Linked DNA regions of Homo sapiens: all the other regions are linked to region 2. Evidence: promoter capture Hi-C in human tissues and cell types (Jung and others, 2019). All regions are on one chromosome and are shown on one strand. The core of a region is centred on a gene start or on the middle of the fragment in contact, and the rest is flanking DNA. Distances in the headings are between cores, read along the strand shown.

Evidence for each region. The method cuts DNA at HindIII sites, captures the fragments that hold promoters and counts their contacts. A contact is called where the count stands out against the background at its distance.
Region 1: a contact is called between a fragment that was not itself captured here and the fragment with the promoter of SPR in region 2, in 1 of the 25 tissues and cell types used here (hippocampus).
Region 3: a fragment that was not itself captured here is called in contact with the fragment with the promoter of SPR in region 2 in 1 of the 25 tissues and cell types used here (IMR-90 fibroblasts).

Annotation. Positions count from the first base shown.
Region 1 is chr2:73,057,840-73,060,539 of GRCh38, forward strand. SFXN5 (sideroflexin 5) reads right to left here. Exons shown (of 14, transcript NM_144579.3): 2 at 689-757. Among named protein-coding and RNA genes, the nearest start is that of SFXN5, 13 kb to the right of the region's middle. RefSeq lists an enhancer at 852-1,352. The HindIII fragment of the contact is 4,366 bases long and covers 1-2,700 here.
Region 2 is chr2:72,886,072-72,888,771 of GRCh38, forward strand. It overlaps SPR (sepiapterin reductase), which reads left to right and starts at 1,337. Exons shown (of 3, transcript NM_003124.5): 1 at 1,337-1,665; 2 at 2,243-2,533. The coding sequence starts at 1,362. RefSeq lists silencers at 1,189-1,578, 2,217-2,391. The HindIII fragment of the contact is 16,003 bases long and covers 497-2,700 here.
Region 3 is chr2:72,753,687-72,756,386 of GRCh38, forward strand. The region is part of intron 1 of EXOC6B (exocyst complex component 6B); the gene reads right to left. Among named protein-coding and RNA genes, the nearest start is that of EXOC6B, 71 kb to the right of the region's middle. The HindIII fragment of the contact is 3,950 bases long and covers 1-2,700 here.

The sequences.
Region 1 (2,700 bases), core at 26-2,525, 170 kb after region 2:
CTCTCCTGCCACCTTGTGAAGAAGGTGCCTGCTTCCCCTTCCACCATATCATTTCCTAAGGCCTCCCCAGCCATGAGGAACTGTGAGACAATTAAACCACTTTTTTTATTAATTACCCAGTCTCGGGAATTTCTTTATAGCAGTATGAGACCGGACTAATACAACTGTGATGGTGGACACACGACTGAATATGGCTGTCAAAACTTAAAGAACTGCACACATAAGAAAGGTAAATTATACCTTAATAACCTGATGTTAAAAGCCATTAACAGCTGTTACCTATAAGAGGAGGGAACTAAGTAGGGAGGACGATTAAAGGATACTTTTTTCTACTTAAACATATTTGTACTGTTTGAACTTTTCTAATGAGCAAATAACTTATGTACTTGATAATAATTTCTTGAAAGTTTTAAAGAATAACAATAATATCTATCTTAAAGGGTTGTTGTGAGATCCAAATGATATAATGTAAAAAGCATACAGCACAATGTATCAACTCAGATACAGACAGACACACAGATACATAAACAGACAGCTACAGGTAGAGAGAATTTGTTACCTTCCTCTCACCTCTCACCTCCCCTATTCTCTTCACTCCCCCATCCTCACCCTCCCTTAATGACCCACATATTCTGAAATGACAAGGTACAAAGGCCCAAGGGCCACTGAGGTGACAGCCATGACTTACCTCAGTGACAAAGAGTGTGCGAGGGTCGATGATATCCAAGAAGTGCCTGAAGCGGCCATAGAAGGACGTCTGAAGAAGAGGATGAGAGAGAAGAGTGAATGGATCAGCTGCTGCACACCCTTCTCCAGACACTGGAGAGCCCCACCCTTTATGATTGGGGTCCCCCGGTCCCCAGGACTCCTCGTGTGGGTGATAAATGCCAATGAGGCCTCAGAAATCTAAGGACAGCTTTCCTGGGGCTGAGAGTTTTCCAAAGTCAACTCAGAGAGACCACTGAGATACTCAAGGACAGGCCCATCTGCTCTTCCAGGTGACTTCCATTTTCCCCTCTCTCTCCCAGTGCCCTGAGATCTATTCTGAGCCTATTAAAAGCTCCCAAGCATCCCTGGACATGTAGGCTGAAGGTGAGGCCTGGTCCCCAGCCCTCTCCCAGCCTCCCTGCCTTGCTCAGGACCTTGAGTGACAAAGCATCCTGCCTACCCGCCACAGGGTCCCTCCCCAAGGTCCAGCTCTGCCTCCAGGGGGGATCCCCAAGGGCAGCTCAAGCCTAAAAGCACTGAGCTCACAATCCTCAGGCCCTCCTTCACCCACAGCCCTGTAGCTGCTGAAGTGCAGGACAAGGGGCAGCTCCCCCAACCTTGCCCCAGAGCAGGGGCCGTGGAAAAGGAGGGCTTTATGCTAAGCGCAGCCACAGGCATTGGAGCACAATGAAAGGAAACCAAGCAACCCGGCTGCTGGGCCTTCTGCCCTGGGGACTAAGCCAGCTGGGCAAAGCTGAGCTCAAGGGGAAGACAGAGGGTGCCAAGCTCGGGGATGAAGGGGAAGCTGCAATCGCTGGGGTTCATGCCTCACTACACTCCGGGCTCTGCCCCAAATTCCTCCCTGGAGCCCCACAACTCTCCAAGCACCATCCTTTGCACAGTGGAGGAAACAGAAGCCTCCACATTCCCTCCCCTTATTTAGTAGGACACCAGACCCTGCAGCCAATTCCTGTTCCTTTCCCTTCCCAATAAGGACCCTGCAATAGGCTCCAGGTCACCTCAAAGTCCCCCCACACACCAGTTCTCATCCCACCTCCATTTCTCTCCCACCATGGCACCCCTGCATGAAGCAACCTCTAACCCCTAATGCCACCCCTACCCAGGTGCTGTCTCTCACAAACCAGATCAAGCTTTGGTCCATTCCTAACAGAAACAGCTGCCTCTCTAACCTCTTATAATCCACACAGCCCAGACCATTTTCCCATTAAAGACATACATAAGGGAGGCTCACAATGCTGTCCTGGCAAAATTTCACCTCTGAGAATGTAGTCTAAGGAAACAATCCAAGATGTTCAAAGATCTGGTCAGGTGTACATACCAAGGATATTCACTGCTGCATTCTTTACAAAGGTGGATGGTTAAATAAATGATGGTCCATTCATATGACTGAATACTATGCAGCCTTTAAAACTATGTTTTCAAACATTTATGACATGGAATAATGCTTAAAATTTTATGAAATGCATATAAGCAGTGTGATTCCAACTCAATAAACAAGGGGATAAACAGAGCTAGACAGATACTAAGTGAAAAGCAAAAAGACCAAATGACATCCAGATCCTGGTCCACTAACAGAGACCAGGGTTCCTTAGGAAAGGAGCGGATTCAAAGGCTGGGGTAGGGAGGGTACAAGATGAAACTGGTACATTTTGTTGCACCAGGAAGTAATGAAGTCTTACCCCCAAAAAATGATGGGGATATGTTAAAAGGATCAACGAAGGGCAGGTGGGACACTGTGTTCTTCCAAATGTGATACCCCGAGAAGTCCACAGCATCACTCACATAATATTCCAAAGGGACTAAATAAATCTAATCACAAGAAAACAACACAAACCCACACTGACAGACATTCCATAAATTAATTGGTTTTGTTCATCAAATATGTCAATGTCATAAAGACAAAGAAAGAGTGGGAATGAGACTGTTCCACATTAAAGAAACTAAAGAGACAACTAGATGCACTGTGTAACT
Region 2 (2,700 bases), core at 87-2,586:
CAGTGTGAATAGGTAAGTGAAAAGCAGGGCAACTTCAAATGGTATACACATATACAGAGTCTTATCAGCGTTAAAATACCAAAAGCTTAAAAAACAATTAGCCAGGCGTGGTGGTGCGCACCTGTAATCCTAGCTACTCAGGAGCCTGAGGTGGAAGGATTGCTTGAGCCCAAGAATTCAAGGCTGCAGTAAACTGTGATCACACCTCTGCACTTCAGTTTGGGCCACAGAGCGAGACTCTGTCAAAAAAAAGAAAAAAGAAAAGAAAAAAGCCTTCCTCCAAGTTGTTTCTTCCTTAGAGTTGGCAATAATAGTGGAAAGGCGGTAACTTTGCTGTTTAGCCCCAGGGGAGGGATCAGCCCTGTGGGGAATTGGGCTAAGTTATCAGAGGTTACTTACTGCCCTTGCTAAACTCTAAAGAGATTCGTTTTTTAAAAACTGACACACAATATTTGGACATATGTATATACACAATGGAATACCACTCGGCCACTAAGAAGGAAACCATGAAGAGATTCCTTTTTAATATATGTAGCTGCATGCCAACTTGTCTCACGTTCCTCCTCTCCTAGAAAAAAAAAAATGTGGATTTTTCTGAAGCACCTGCCTGGAGGTACAGACAGATGATTGCGCAAACTTGAAGCTGAAAGTGGATGGAATTGCTGCCAGGGAGACTGTAGCATGAGCAGGAGCAGAATCCTGGGGAACACACTTTTAGGGACAGGAGTCAGAAATCTCAGAGAAGCAGGGGTTACTGGTGGGATCACGGAGCTGCTCAGGGCCTAGTAAAAGGGAAAGGTTTTAATATCATTTGGAGCCACTGTGGTTCTCCCAGAGGAAGCTCCTGTCATCCAGAGAGCGGTGAGCTCCCAAACAAGCAGAGACTTCAATTCCTAAACAGGCATAAGCTTCATTCAGGGTGTTCACTGGCCACGACCAGGGACGCCCAGCACCCAGTGCAGGGCCTGCCCTGGAAGAGGTCAGTAGTGCAAAGTTAGGGCTGGAACTGGGAGGAAATTCGAGCATGCGTCCCAGCCGGAGGCTGAGCTTGCGGGCGAAGAACACGGCAGCGCTGGGAACCGGGCTAGGGCTTTCCGTGTGGGCCGCGCCTGCCGGCCCTCTCTGTTGTCCCACTTGGCACGGACTGGGCTACCGCCACGGTTTGACTTCCGCCACCAGCAACCAAGGGAACCAGATCCCAAGGGAACCAGCACCCCTGGGCGCTCGCGGCCCGAAGCCTGAGGTTCCCGCCCCGCCCCGGCAGGGCGGCCCCGCCGACACCCGTAGCGGTCCCGCCCCCCGCGGCCGCACCGCCTCCTGCCTGGTCTCGGGTGCCAGCGCCGCCGGCGGAGAACAGGAGCATGGAGGGCGGGCTGGGGCGTGCTGTGTGCTTGCTGACCGGGGCCTCCCGCGGCTTCGGCCGGACGCTGGCCCCGCTCCTGGCCTCGCTGCTGTCGCCCGGCTCCGTGCTTGTCCTTAGCGCCCGCAACGACGAGGCACTGCGCCAGCTGGAGGCCGAGCTGGGCGCCGAGCGGTCTGGCCTGCGCGTGGTGCGGGTGCCCGCCGACCTGGGCGCCGAGGCCGGCTTGCAGCAGCTGCTCGGCGCCCTGCGCGAGCTCCCCCGGCCCAAGGGGCTGCAGCGACTGCTGCTTATCAACAACGCGGGTAAGACCCCGGGGCTGGAGCGGACTCCCCATGTGAGCGCCCACTTCCTCCACCGCTGGGGAATTTAAGGGCTACTCCTAGGGGTCAGATAGGACGCCTAGAAATCTAAAGCCCTAGTTGTTCCAGCTTGAGTAGCAAGTGGAGGCGAGGTGTACAGGAAGACTCGGTGCCGTCGGGACAACAGTCTGCCCCCACTTCCTGGAAAATTGGCCAGCCGGGTTTTCCAAAGCGCCTGTAGAACTTTCCCGAGCCCCTTGCTCTGCGCCCTCTGGCGGAGGCCTGAGTCAGGGCTTGGAGTCTCCAAACAAGTAAACTCTCTGCTTCTCCAAAGGACCGCTAGAGCTTTCCTTCAGCCCCACGGCAAGGCAGGTGCCTTCTCATTCTGCAGCTTGGGATGGCTAGGTTCCCCAGCTGTGTCTTTCCGCAGAGCTGGGGAAGAGAGAAGCCTCTTCAGAAGCGCTAGGCAGCTTCCTCCTCTAGGTCTGCATGGGAAGAGGATATCTGGAGGAACTTGGGAGGGCTGGGGAAGAAGAAAGCCCCGCCTGCACTGAGTTACTCCTAAGGGTTGGTTTTTCAGGCTCTCTTGGGGATGTGTCCAAAGGCTTCGTGGACCTGAGTGACTCCACTCAAGTGAACAACTACTGGGCACTGAACTTGACCTCCATGCTCTGCCTGACTTCCAGCGTCCTGAAGGCCTTCCCGGACAGTCCTGGCCTCAACAGAACCGTGGTTAACATCTCGTCCCTCTGTGCCCTGCAACCTTTCAAAGGCTGGGCGCTGTACTGTGCAGGAAAGGCTGCTCGTGATATGCTGTTCCAGGTCCTGGCGCTGGAGGAACCTAATGTGAGGGTGCTGAACTATGCCCCAGGTAGGTGGGAAGTCCTGCCGTCCCTGTCCTCCAGAACCCACTGGTGCGCCTCTGGGGGCTGGGCAAGCGGCCTAGTCCGCCCCCTCCAGGAAACAACCCACAGGATTTTGTCCTTGAATCTTGACCCATCACCCCTTAGGGGAAATACAGACCCAGGGGAAATAGAG
Region 3 (2,700 bases), core at 174-2,673, 130 kb before region 2:
ATAGTATGTAAGATGCCCTCCATGTCCAGCATTATCTCTGAATACTCCCCACATTCACTCTACAACTCTACTTGAAGTTCCTTGAGTGTAGCATGTATTCCCTCTGCCTGCAATGTCCTTACCATCACTTCTCTGGCAAATTCCTACTCATCTTTCAAGGTTCAGCTCAAAACTCAACTCTTTCCTAAAACGTCTCTCCTTAATACAACTACTATAACCTGATACAGAAGCTCCTTACCTTTTTAGTTTTTAGGATTTGTTTTTGTTTTTGTTTTGAGACAGGGTCTCACTCTGTGTCCCAGGCTCAATCGATCCTCCTGCCTCAGCCTCCTGAGTAGCTGGGACTACAGGCAGGCACCACCATGCCTAGCTCATTTTTTTGTAGAGACAAGGTCTCACTATGTTGCCTGGGATGGTCTCAAACTCCTGGGCTCAAGCAATCCTCCCACCTCGGCCTCCCAAAATACTGGGATTACAGGTGAGAGTCACCATGCCCAGCTCAGAAGCTGCTCTTCTTACCAACAAGGTAGAACACAAGAAACTGCTTTGGTTCATAAAACCAAAGCAGCCACGAAGAGCTTAAGCTTGCATACTCTGGAGGAATTTATACCAAACAAGATCATGAGTCCATTCTTTAAAGATTCAAATTCAATACCATTTTTCTCCTACTTGCTGATATGAGGCATCTTTTCCCAAATGACACCAATTTCTTTTTTTTTCTTTTTGGTAGAGATGAGGTCTTGCTACATTGCCCAGGGTACTGTCAAACTCCTAGCCTCGAGCAATCCTACCACCTCAGCCTCCCAAAGTGCTGGCGTTATAGGGTGTGAGCCACCACACCCAGCCAAATTTAATCTACAATAACAGTCTCTTGCAGCATGTATTAGTCTAGTTCTATGTATTTCATTTTTTTAATAGCTTTTTTTTTTCTTTTTTTTTTTTTAGAGACAGTATCTCACTCTGTTGCCCAGGCTGGAGCACAGTGGCACAATCATGGCTCACTTACAGCCTCTAGCTTCTGGGCTTAAGGGACCCTCTAGCCTCCGCCTCCTAAGTAGCTGGGATTACAGGCATGCACCAACACAAGCAGCTAATTTTTTAAAATTTTTTTTTGCAGAGATGGGGTCTCACTATGTTGCCCAGGCTGGTCTCAAACTTCTGGGCTCAAGCGATCCTCCCACCTTGGCCCCCCAAACTGGTGAGATTACAAGTGTGAGCCACAGTGCCTGCTCATAGTCTAGTTCGATAAGGAATATATTTAAAAATCTATTTTTTTTAATGAAACAAAATCTATTGAAGCACCTAGCCCTATCCTTGATAAGGAGTGTATGATAAGGATATAGGATAAGAATTACTCCTTAACAGTCATGGTATAATCATTCACCAACTGGCTCTCACTTTGACACTGTATAAATTTGAACTGGCCTTGAACCTATGAAGCCATATGTGGTTTGAGGTGAATTTCACCAGGAGTACTGTCATCTTGTTTTGCCTCAAAGTTCTTGAACAAATGCCTAGTATTATCCAGAAGTTACATTAGGATAATGGGCCTAGAAATGAATGGGCACCACTACTAATGATATTTACTGGTGGAAAGCACAGTTCATGTCCTTTTGCTTTGAAATGTTTATTTGTTCATATTTTTGAAAGGGTACTACGGTGAACACTCTATACAGTAATGATTTATTTACATGTCTATCTCCCCTATAAGACCATGAGTTCCTTGAGAGTTTACACCTGGAACAATGGCTGTATCCCACAGAGAAAGCATTATAAAGTGACAAAGAGCCAAAGCAGTGCCCAAAAATGTTTCAACATTTCATCTTACCCCAAAGAGAAGCACTAGAGTTCAATAATAAATATTTTTACCAAAAAGTTAATTCAAGTTCTAGCAGTGCAAATAATTTGCACTTCAGCTAAAATGTTAAACAGAAAAAGAAAGAAACAGAGGAAGAAAGGAGAAATTTAGATGGCTAAAGGAAATCTATTGTAGGAGGAGAGTAGTGTCTGGCAATAATTTGTTATTTCCCTAGCTCTCCTCTAACCTCCTCTGGAAGCTAGGAGAAGGAAGATGATTAAACTGCAACAAGACCTGGCTCTGAAGAGAACTGATGTTTCTGGCCCTTGTTGCCAACAGAAGGGGGAGGGTGACAGCAGTCCCTACGGGCTTTTAGAAAAAATTGCTTCCAGGTGGAAATTTTTTATGGTACTGAGCAGCCTGGAGCCATTTTTGGCTTTACTTCTTAACTACTGATGATTAAACCATGGACAATCAGGCTGCAACAATGGAAACAGACAGCTCTCAAACATCATGGTTATATGCTCCAAATTACAAAGTTAACTCTCAAAGGAGAGAAACATTTTGTTGGCAAAATCTTTTTTTAAGGGGGACGTTTTTAACTGTGTTGGGGCGGGGGTTGTCAGGTGGAGTCTGTTAAAGATTTATATTTGGTAAAACATAAAAGTAGCCAAGAACTCTGTATCATAATGATAAACATCAGTCCCATGCCAAACCTAGACACTGTAATGCAGAGTCATAGGGAGCTGAACAAAGGACAATGCTAAATGTCCTGGTATTTCAAAATTTTTCATTACTTTATTTTGGCCTGGATTAAGCATTCTATTAAATGATTATCATAGATGTCTGTAGGGAAATCCAGCCACACAACATGTGGGACAGCTAAGTCGATTTATAACCTA